2 separate regions of the Homo sapiens genome follow, and region 2 is linked to region 1. Evidence: promoter capture Hi-C in human tissues and cell types (Jung and others, 2019). All regions are on one chromosome and are shown on one strand. Each heading gives the region's core, a stretch centred on a gene start or on the middle of the fragment in contact. The rest is flanking DNA. Distances are from core to core; before and after follow the strand shown. Region 1 holds the start of NLRP8 (NLR family pyrin domain containing 8). Region 2 overlaps NLRP5 (NLR family pyrin domain containing 5).

Region 1 (5,103 bases), core at 1,555-4,054:
GCGTGAGCCACCACGCCTGGCCTTTTTTGTTTTTGTTTTTTTTGAGATGGAGTCTCGCTCTGTTGCCCAGGCTGGAGTGCAGTGGCGGGATCTTGGCTCACTCACTGCAAACTCCCCCTCTTGGTTTCAAGTGATTCTCCTGCCTCAGCTTCCCAAGTAGCTGGGACTACAGGTGCATGCCACCACGCCCAGCCAATATTTGTTTTTTTTTTTTTTTTTTTTAAGTAGAGACGGGTTTTCACCATGTTGGCCAGGATGGTCTCAATCTCTTGACCTCGTGATCCTCCCACCTCAGCCTCCCAAAGTGCTGAAATTACAGGCATGAGCCACCACACCTGGCCTCAGGTTGCAGTTTTAGGAGTAGAACTACTGAATTCCATGGCAGTGCACACGATTGGTAGTATTGTGAAAAGGCCTTTCAGATAGGTTCCCCCTGCTTATGTTCCCTTCAGCAGTGAATGAAAGTAAAGCAAAACGATGATGTAACTGCCAACATCCTCCCTTGCCCTGCAAATTTCTTTTCTTTTCCTTTCTTTCTTTCTTTTCTTTTTTTTTTTTTTTTTTTTTTTTTTGAGACAGGGTCTTGCTCTATCACCCTGGCTGGAGTGCAGTGGCATGATATCCACTCATTGCAACCTCTGCCTCCTGGGTTCAAGCAATTCTCCTGCCTCAGCCTCCCGAGTAGCTGGGATTACAGGCACCCACCACCACGCCCAGCTACTTTTTGTGTTTTTAATAGAGGCAGGGTTTCACCATGTTGGCCAGGCTGGTCTGGAACTCCTGGCCTGAAGTGATCCACCTGTCTTGGCCTCCCAAAGTGCTGGGATTACAGGCGTGAGCCACCGCACCCAGCCAGTCCTGCAAATTTCTTAAAGCTGCAGCTCACTGTGGCTGGAACGTGGTCAGCAATGGTCATGGAATAAGTAGAGGTAGAAAATGTGTGACTGTGTTAGGCTCCTCCATGCAGCGCCACCCACTGGACGGAAGGAGCACTAGCAAGAGTCAGCCACCCAGGAGCATATCACCTTTGTCCTGGGACCAAGCCCAGCTACTCTGGACCCAAGGGAGGACTGAGTCAATTAAACAAGTTTATCCAGATGTTTGGGTGTCACATAAGTTATAAGAGGGAGAAGTGTTAAAGAAGAAGCTATTGGCCAGGTGCAGTGGCTCACACCTGTAATCCCAGCACTTTGGGAGGCTGAGGTGGGTGGATCACTTGAGGTCAGGAGTTTGAGACCAGCCTGGCCAACATAGTGAAACCCCATCTATACTAAAAATACAAAAAAATTAGCCAGGCATGGTGGCAGGTGCCTGTAATCCCAGCTACTCAGGGGGCTGAGGCAAGGGAATTGCTTGAACCAGGGAAGTGGAGGTTGCAGTGAGCCGAGATCACACCACTGCACTCCAGCCTGGGAAACAGAGTGAGACTCTGTCTCTAAGTAAATAAATAAATAATAAATAAATAAACTATTATTGGAAGTTGGGGCAGGGGGGACAAAAATACACCCATGATCCTTTTTATTTTATTTCTTTTTTACATTTCTTTTAGATACAGGGGTACATGTGCAGGTTTGTTATATAGGCAAACGTGTTATGGGGGTGGGTTTGTTGTACAGGTTATCTCATCACCCAGGTATTAATCCCAGTACCCATTAGTTATTTTTCCTGATCTTCTCCCTCCTCCCACCCTCCAGCCTCTAGCAGACTCCAGTGTGTGGTGTTCCCTCTATGTGTCCATGTGTTCTCATCGTTTAGCTACCACTTATAAATGAGCACATGTGGTATTTGGTTTCCTGTTCCTGTGTTAGTTTGCTAAGGAATAATGGTCTCTGGCTCCATCTATGTTCCTGCAAAGGTCATGATCTCATTCTTTTTTATGGCTGCATAGTATTCCATGGTGTTTATGTACCACATTTTTTTATCCGGTCTATCACTGATGGGCATTTAGGTTGATTCCATGACTTTGCTATTGTGAGTAGTGCTGCAATGAACATACACAGGAATGTGTCTTTATAATAGAATGATTTATATTCCTTTGGATATATATCCAGTAATGGGATTGCTGAGTTGAATGGTAGTTCTCTTTTTAGGTCTTTGAGGAGTTGCCCCACTGTCATCCAGAGTAGTTGAACTAATTTACACTCCCACACACAGAGTATAAGTGTTCCTTTTTCTCTGCGACTTCACCAGCATCTGTTATTGCTTGACTTTTTAATAATCACCATTCTGACTGGTGTGAGATGACATCTCGTTGTGGTTTTGATTTGCATCTCTCTAATACATGATCCATTTTTTAAGAATACAGCATCTGTTATTGCTTGACTTTTTAATAATCACCATTCTGACTGGTGTGAGATGACATCTCGTTGTGGTTTTGATTTGCATCTCTCTAATACATGATCCATTTTTTTAAGAATAAAAACTTTGTTGAATTTGAGATCACTTTTAATCTAATGGAGCCTTCTAACCAACCATATATTTTCTAGATTTTAGCTTCACTGAATTATTTTACCTGCTTCTAATTTTTCTTTTCGCTAAACCTTTTGTGAAGGCTTTGATATTTTGCTTGCCTCTTCCCCAAAAGAAGTCATGGAGAATAGAAACTACAAACAATCCATTAGTCTAATGGACTAATCCCAAACATTCCATGCATCTTCAGTTTTTCCATAGGGCAGAGAATCTTTGAGGAAAGGAGGTAAAGGGAGTACCCGGCACGCAGAATACCTGCCAAGTAAGCATTACACGAATCTGTTTTCTTGGGTAGTGTTTTCATCTTCTTGTTTTATTGTTTTATGTCTCTGCAGGTCTCGTGTTTCTCTCTTCCAATCGGTTGTCTTTATCGTGGACACTGAGGTGTTCTCTGCCTTGACTAAAGATGAGTGACGTGAATCCACCCTCTGACACCCCCATTCCCTTTTCATCCTCCTCCACTCACAGTTCTCATATTCCGCCCTGGACATTCTCTTGCTACCCCGGCTCCCCATGTGAAAATGGGGTCATGCTGTACATGAGAAACGTGAGCCATGAGGAGCTACAACGGTTCAAGCAGCTCTTACTGACTGAGCTCAGTACTGGCACCATGCCCATCACCTGGGACCAGGTCGAGACAGCCAGCTGGGCAGAGGTGGTTCATCTCTTGATAGAGCGTTTCCCTGGACGACGCGCTTGGGATGTGACTTCGAACATCTTTGCCATTATGAACTGTGATAAAATGTGTGTTGTAGTCCGCAGAGAGATAAATGGTGAGTGTTGATCTGGTGGATAAAGTGGGGGTGGGCTTGGCTGCTGGGCAGCTAAACTACTCTAGTCACCACCCCTATCACTTATTGGCCTTCTGAGCAAGAAAGCAAACAGTGGAGGAAGATAATGGATCTAACCCAAAGGCAAAGACTGTCATACGGGCATTTTTTTAATTTTATTTTTCTGAGATGGGGTTTCGCTCTTCTTGCCCAGGCTGAAGTGCAATGGCACAATCTCGGCTCACTGCAAACCCCGCCTCCCAGGTACAGGTGATTCTCCTGCCTCAGCCTCCTGAGTAGCTGGGATTACAGGCACCCACCACCATGCCTGGGTAATTTTTTTTTATTTTTAGTAGAGACGGGGTTTCACCATGTTGGCCAGGCTGGTCTCGAACTACTGACCTCAGGTAATCCGCCTGCCTTGGCCCCCCAAAGTGCTGGGATTGCAGGTGTGAGCCACTGTGCCCAGCCCATATGGGCCTATTTTTTAAAAACTTAACTGAATACTGCTTATATGAGGTGAACGTTAAATGAAGTCATAGAGAAGTAGGAAGTAAAATAGTGGAAAAGCATATGCTATGGAAACAGCAGAAGACAGCTGGTATAGCTATGGTGATGTCAGGAGTGCTATATTTAAAGCAAGAAGGTTAAACACTTTAAAAGGCCATTTCGCAGCAACAAAGGGTGAATCCCACTGGAGGATATTGTAATCCAAAACCTCATCTTCAATATGAATAAAGCAGAGCTGGACTACAGTCATCCCCTTATCCAAGGTTTTGCTTTCTGAAGTTTGGGTTGATCATGGCCAAAAATAGATGAGTACAGTACACTGAGATATTCTGAGACAGAGAGAGACCACATTTACATACCGTTTATGATAGTATAGTATTATAATTGTTCTATTTCATTATTATTGTTAATCTCTTACTGTACCTAATTTATAATTTAAACTTTTATCATAGATCGGTATGTATTTTTTTTCTATTTTGAGATGGAGTCTTCATTCTGTCACACAGGCTGGAGTGCAGTGGTGTGATCTCAGCTCACTGCAACCTCCACCTCCCAGGTTCAAGCAATTCTCATGCCTCAGCCTCCCCAGTAGCTGGGATTACAGGTGCGCACCACCACACCCAGCTAATTTTTGTATTTTTAGTAGAAACGGGGTTTCACCATGTTGGCCAGGCTGGTTTCAAACTCCTGACCTTAGGTGATTTGCCTGCCTCGGCCTCCCAAAGTGCTGGAATTACAGGTGTGAGCCACCACACCCGGCCTAGATATGTATTTAAAAAAATCAGTATCCACATTGTTCAGTACTATCCACAGTTTCAGATATCCACCGGGGATCTTGGAACATAGACCCTGCAGAGAAGGGGGGACTACTGTATTAAAGGAAAATACACCAATCCAGAAACATGATAGGAGCTGTGAACCCGCCTCTCCCAATAGCTGATATTACAAGTAGTCAGTCTCATTGGTAAGAATGGAGAAAACGTCAGCTCCACAGTTTTAAACATAAACACAGGAGAGTGGGTGCCTTACGTCTCCTTAGCCACTGGCACCCCAACAGCTGGCTCAGCACCTAGCATGTCATAGGTGCTCAAATATTAGATGGCTAGAGAGTAATTGATTGTGAAAAGGGACTTTCTTTTGATAAGGCAGCCTAGGAAGTCCTCTTTGAGGAAATGATGCTAAGGTTGAGACCTAACACAGGAGGAAATAGCTCATCATGTGAAAAGGAGAGAGAGTCACCGGAAAAGAAAATCAGAGGGGATGGAAACCCCGTGACCCAGTGGTAGAGAAAATCTTAGTGTTAAACAGAAAATGTTAATATTTATGAAAACCTGATGAAAAATACACAGAGAGG
Region 2 (5,103 bases), core at 1,179-3,678, 71 kb after region 1:
TTATTCTGCCTCAGCCTCTCAAGTAGCTGGGGCTACAGGCATGCACCACCACGCCCAGCTAATTTTGTATTTTTAGTAGAGACAGGGTTTCTGCATGTTGGTCAGGCTGGTCTGGAACTCCCGACCTCAGGTGATCCACCCACCTCAGCCTCCCAAAGTGCTGGGATTACAAGCTTGAGCCACCACACCCAGCTGTGCTGAGAACATTTAAAATCCTCTTTTAGCTATTTTGAAATAGACTTTGTTATTAACCAGTCACCACGTTGTGCAATAGAATACCAGAACTTACTCCTCTTGTCTAGCTGTAAGTTTGTACCTGTTGACTAATGTTTTCCAACTTTCCCGGTCCACTCTCTGCCCCACCAGCCTCTGGTAACCACTGTTCTACCCTCCAATTCTGAGTTCGACATTTTTAGATTCCACGTGTCAGATCCTCTGGTATTTCTCTGTGCCTGGCTTACTTCACTTAACATAATGTCCTCTAGGTTCCTCAATGTTGTAGCAAATGACAGAATTTCCTGTATGTTTTAGAGCTGAATAACCCATTGTGTATATACACCACATTTTTTTAAGGGAGTCTTGCTCTGTTGCCCAGGCTGGGGTGCAGTGGCGCGATCTCAGCTCACTGCAAGCTCCGCCTCCTGGGTTCAAGTGATTCTCCTGCCTCAGCCTCCCAAGTAGCTGGGATTACAGGCATGCGCCACCATGCCCAGCTAATTTTTGTATTTTTAGTGCAGATGGGGTTTCACCGTGTTAGGCAGGATGGTCTCAGTCTCTTGACCTCGTGATCCGCCCGCCTCGGCCTCCCAAAGTGCTGGGATTACAGACGTGAGCCACCGCGCCCGGCCAAAATCCTTTTCATTTCTTTAAGGCTGTTAGTTGTGACCCTCTTTCATTCCCGACTCCAGTAATTTTAGCTGTCTCTTTTTTTCCTTGGTCAGTCTGGCTAAAGGTCTGTCAATTTTGTTCTTTTCAAAGAACAAACTGGTAGGTTTGTTTTCTCTATGGTATTTCCATCTTGTATTTTGTTTATTTCTTTATTCCCTTTCTCTGCCTGTTTTGGGGTGAGTTTGCTACTCACTAACCCCAAAAGGGGGTTCTTTCCTACTTTAAGGTGGGAAGTTATATTATATTTCAGATCTTTCTTAGGCATTTATGGCTATAAATTTTCCTTTATGCACGGCTCTACCTACACGCTGTAAATATTGCTGTGTTTTGTTTCCACTCATTTCAAAGTATTTAATTCCCTTTTGTTTCCCCTTTGACCTGTTGAGGATCGTGTGGCTTCACTTCCATATATTTGGAAATTTTCAAATTTTCTGACTGATTTCTAATCTTATTTCATTGTGTTAAGAGAGCATACTTTGTATAATTTCAAGGAACATAAACTTGAAGCATGTTTTATGCCTGATGTATCTATCTTGAAGAAGGTCTGTTTGCAGTTGAGAAGGGCATGTTTTCTGCTGTTGGGTGGAGCGTTGGTTTGATATCTGCCTTCACTGTTTTCCATATCGGTAAATAGCGTCACTATGTGCCTGGTCGTTTACACCAAAAGCTTAGTCGTTTTTTGCTCGTTTGTTTGTCTCACTCTGTCTCCCAGGATGGAGTGCGGTCGCGCAATCTTGGCTCACTGCAACCTCCACGTCCCAGGTTTAAGCAGTTCTTGTGCCTTGACTTCCTTAGTAGCTGTATTTTTTAATATTTATTTTCTCCACCATATATCTAGCAAATCAGAAGATCATATGGTCTCTACCCGTAATATATGACCCATTTTTACACAGTTCTTCCCATCTTCTGTATTTCTGTGGTGTATATACACAATGGGTTATTGAAGGCATTTCATTTGCGTCCCAAACGCAATCCACTTTTACATACAATCAATTTTTCATACAATAACCAAGGCGATCTAAAAATTTACGCCTGTAACTTGATTCCCATGCTTAAAAATCCTTAAGTGGTTTTTATTCTGTTTGTGATTTTAAAAAATCTATAATTTTTCTCTAATTGACAAGACAAAGACCACCCTAATGATTGTTCTTTAAAATGGCAAATCTATTCTCATATATCCTAAGACGAATTTGTATTTAGCCTCACATGGTAACTATTTCCTGATAAATATATATAGTGGTTATTCTCAGTCAGTGGTAGCTACTATATGCCAGAGGCTGTGTTATTACTCTACCAAATCATCTCCACAGCAACTCGACAACATAAGAACAATTTCTTTGCTTTTCTAGATGAGCATACAGAAACATTTAACTTCAGTAACTTGATGAAGATCTTACAAATAGTTTATGACAACTCACATTTGAATCCTGTGTCTAATTCAAATCCAATTCTTTTTTTAAGAGAGAGAGTTTTGCTGTATTGCTGAGACTACAATGCAGTGGCTATCCACAAGCATGACCGTAGCTCACTACAGCCTCAAACTGCTGGACTCAAGTGATTCTCCTGCCTCAGCCTCCCAAGTAGCTGGGACTACAGGCATGTACCACAAAATCTGGCTCTAAGATCCTAAGATCCTTAATTCTTAACTGTAGGTTTTGCCCCTCATTTAATTTTTGTATTCTTATTATTATTTTTGGAGTGCAGTGGCATGATCTCAGCTTACTGCAACCTCTGCCTCCAAAGTTCAAGTTACTCTCCTGCTTCAGCCTCCTGAGTAGCTGGGATTACAGGCACGTGCCACCATCCCTGGCTAACTTTTTGTATTTTTTAGTAGAGATGGGGTTTCATCATATTGGTCAGGCTGGCCTCGAACCCCTGACCTCTGGTGATCTGCCCGCCTCGGCCTCCCAAAGTGCTGGGATTACAGGTGCGAACGACCACGCCCAACCTACCCTTCATTTTAATAACTTGTGCAAGGCTCTTCAAGGAGAAATGAGCCTGGGACCCTCACCCTCAAGCTTTGAATTAGTGCTCATTGTACCAGTGCACTCTGTCTTCTAGCTGAGACAGTGGTTGCCATGTTTTCAACTGGCCAGAAAATAAATATGGCATGACTAAGCTTATCTTGGGGGTGTCTGACATCTCTGACTCAAATAATAAACACAAGTATGTTGGAATTCATTCTTCTTTTGCAGAAATTTCACAAGCTATGGAACAAGAAGGTGCCACAGCAGCAGAGACAGAAGAACAAGGTGAGGAAAATAGATGTATTCCTTGGTTGCCCTCCTGGAAGAAAGTTGGGTGAAAGAAGTGTAAGTAGTTTAGATTTCAAGGGTATGTAGTTTAGATTGCCTTTCTTCATTCTCATTTGTCTCTGGTGTCAACCCCTTCCCTTCAAGCTCTTGATCAGTACCATGGATAGAGCTACGCAAGTTCACTGTGATTATCTACAGTCAGATACTATGAAGACAAAATTCTAAAGAACCCATAATTCTAGGGGACTCGAATCAATCACAACTTTGTTTGATGGATGTTAAACATATGGCCAAGAGTAGTCAAATGCTGTCTTCAAACTTAAGTGGCAGTAATTATTTTTGTAATTCCTTCTATCAACTAATATGTACATGAATACCTGCCATTGAAGAATTGTGCTGGAATTACAGTGGTAAGAAAAACATGTCTTGCCTTCATGGCATTTTTTTTTTTTTGAGAAGGAGTCTCGCTGTGTCGCCCAAGCTGTAGTGCAGTGGCGGGATCTCAGCTCAGTGCAACCTCTGCCTCCCAGGTTCAAGCGATTCTTCTGTCTCAGCCTCCCGAGTAGCTGGGATTACAGGCACCTGCCACTGTGCCCGACTAATTTTTGTATTTTTAGTAGAGATGGGGTTTCACCATATTGGCCAAGCTGGTCTCGAACTCGTGACCTCGGCTGCCCACCTCGGCCTCCCAAAGTGCTGGGATTACAGGCATGAGCCACCACGCCCGACCTACCCCTCATTTTAATAACTTGTGCAAGTCTCTTCAAGGAGAAATGAGCCTAGGACCCTCACCCTCAAGCTTTGAATTAGTGCTCATTGTACCAGTGCACTCTGTCTTCTAGTTGAGCCGGTGGTTGTCATGTTTTCAACTGGCCAGAAAATAAATATGGCATGACTAAGCTTATCTTGGGGGTGTCTGACATCTCTGACTCGAATAATAAACACAAGTATGTTGGAATTCATTCTTTTGCAGAAATTTCACAAGCTATGGAACAAGAAGGTGCCACAGCAGCAGAGACAGAAGAACAAGGTGAGGAAAATAGATGTATTCCTTGGTTGCCCTCCTGGAAGAAAGTTGGGTGAAAGAAGTGTAAGTAGTTTAGATTTCAAGGGTATGTAGTTTAGATTGCCTTTCTTCAATCTCATTTGTCTCTGGTGTCAACCCCTTCCCTTCAAGCTCTTGATCAGTACCATGGATAGAGCTACGCAAGTTCACTGTGATTATCTACAGTCAGATACTATGAAGACAAAATTCTAAAGAACCCATAATTCTAGGGGACTCGAATCAATCACAACTTTGTTTGATGGATGTTAAACATATGGCCAAGAGTAGTCAAATGCTGTCTTCAAACTTAAGTGGTAGTAATTATTTTTGTAATTCCTTCTATCAACTAATATGTACATGAATACCTGCCATTGAAGAATTGTGCTGGAATTACAGTGGTAAGAAAAACATGTCTTGCCTTCGTGGCATTTTTTTTTTTTTTTTTGAGAAGGAGTCTCGCTGTGTCGCCCAAGCTGTAGTGCAGTGGCGGTATCTCGGCTCAGTGCAACCTCTGCCTCCCAGGTTCAAGCGATTCTTCTGTCTCAGCCTCCCGAGTAGCTGGGATTACAGGCCTGCCACCATGCCCGACTAATTTTTGTATTTTTAGTAGAGATGGGGTTTCACCATATTGGCCAGGTCGGTCTCGCACTCCTGATCTCGTGATCTGCCCACCTTAGCCTCCCAAAGTGCTGGGATTACAGGCATTTGCCGCTGTGCCCAGCTGCCTTCATGGCATTTATCATCCAGACTTACACATTAGCTAAACCTTATGGAATGAAGATGAGTCTAAAGTGCTATAACTTTGCAGGATGATGATTAAACAGCCAAAGATGTAAGAGCAGGCTTCCCTGAGAAACTGTTGATTGAGGCTTTTTTGTTGAGATATAATTAGGATTTTATATACCATAAAGTTGA

The links. Contacts are between HindIII fragments. The study calls those that stand out against the background at their distance.
Region 2: a fragment that was not itself captured here is called in contact with the fragment with the promoter of NLRP8 in region 1 in 4 of the 25 tissues and cell types used here (pancreas, psoas muscle, spleen and 1 more).

What each region holds. Positions count from the first base shown.
Region 1 is chr19:55,945,028-55,950,130 of GRCh38, forward strand. It overlaps NLRP8 (NLR family pyrin domain containing 8), which reads left to right and starts at 2,805. Exons shown (of 10, transcript NM_001433706.1): 1 at 2,805-3,242. The coding sequence starts at 2,876. The HindIII fragment of the contact is 14,722 bases long and covers 1-5,103 here.
Region 2 is chr19:56,016,259-56,021,361 of GRCh38, forward strand. It overlaps NLRP5 (NLR family pyrin domain containing 5), which reads left to right. Exons shown (of 15, transcript NM_001433705.1): 5 at 3,084-3,140; 6 at 4,117-4,173. Among named protein-coding and RNA genes, the nearest start is that of NLRP5, 32 kb to the left of the region's middle. The HindIII fragment of the contact is 3,128 bases long and covers 865-3,992 here.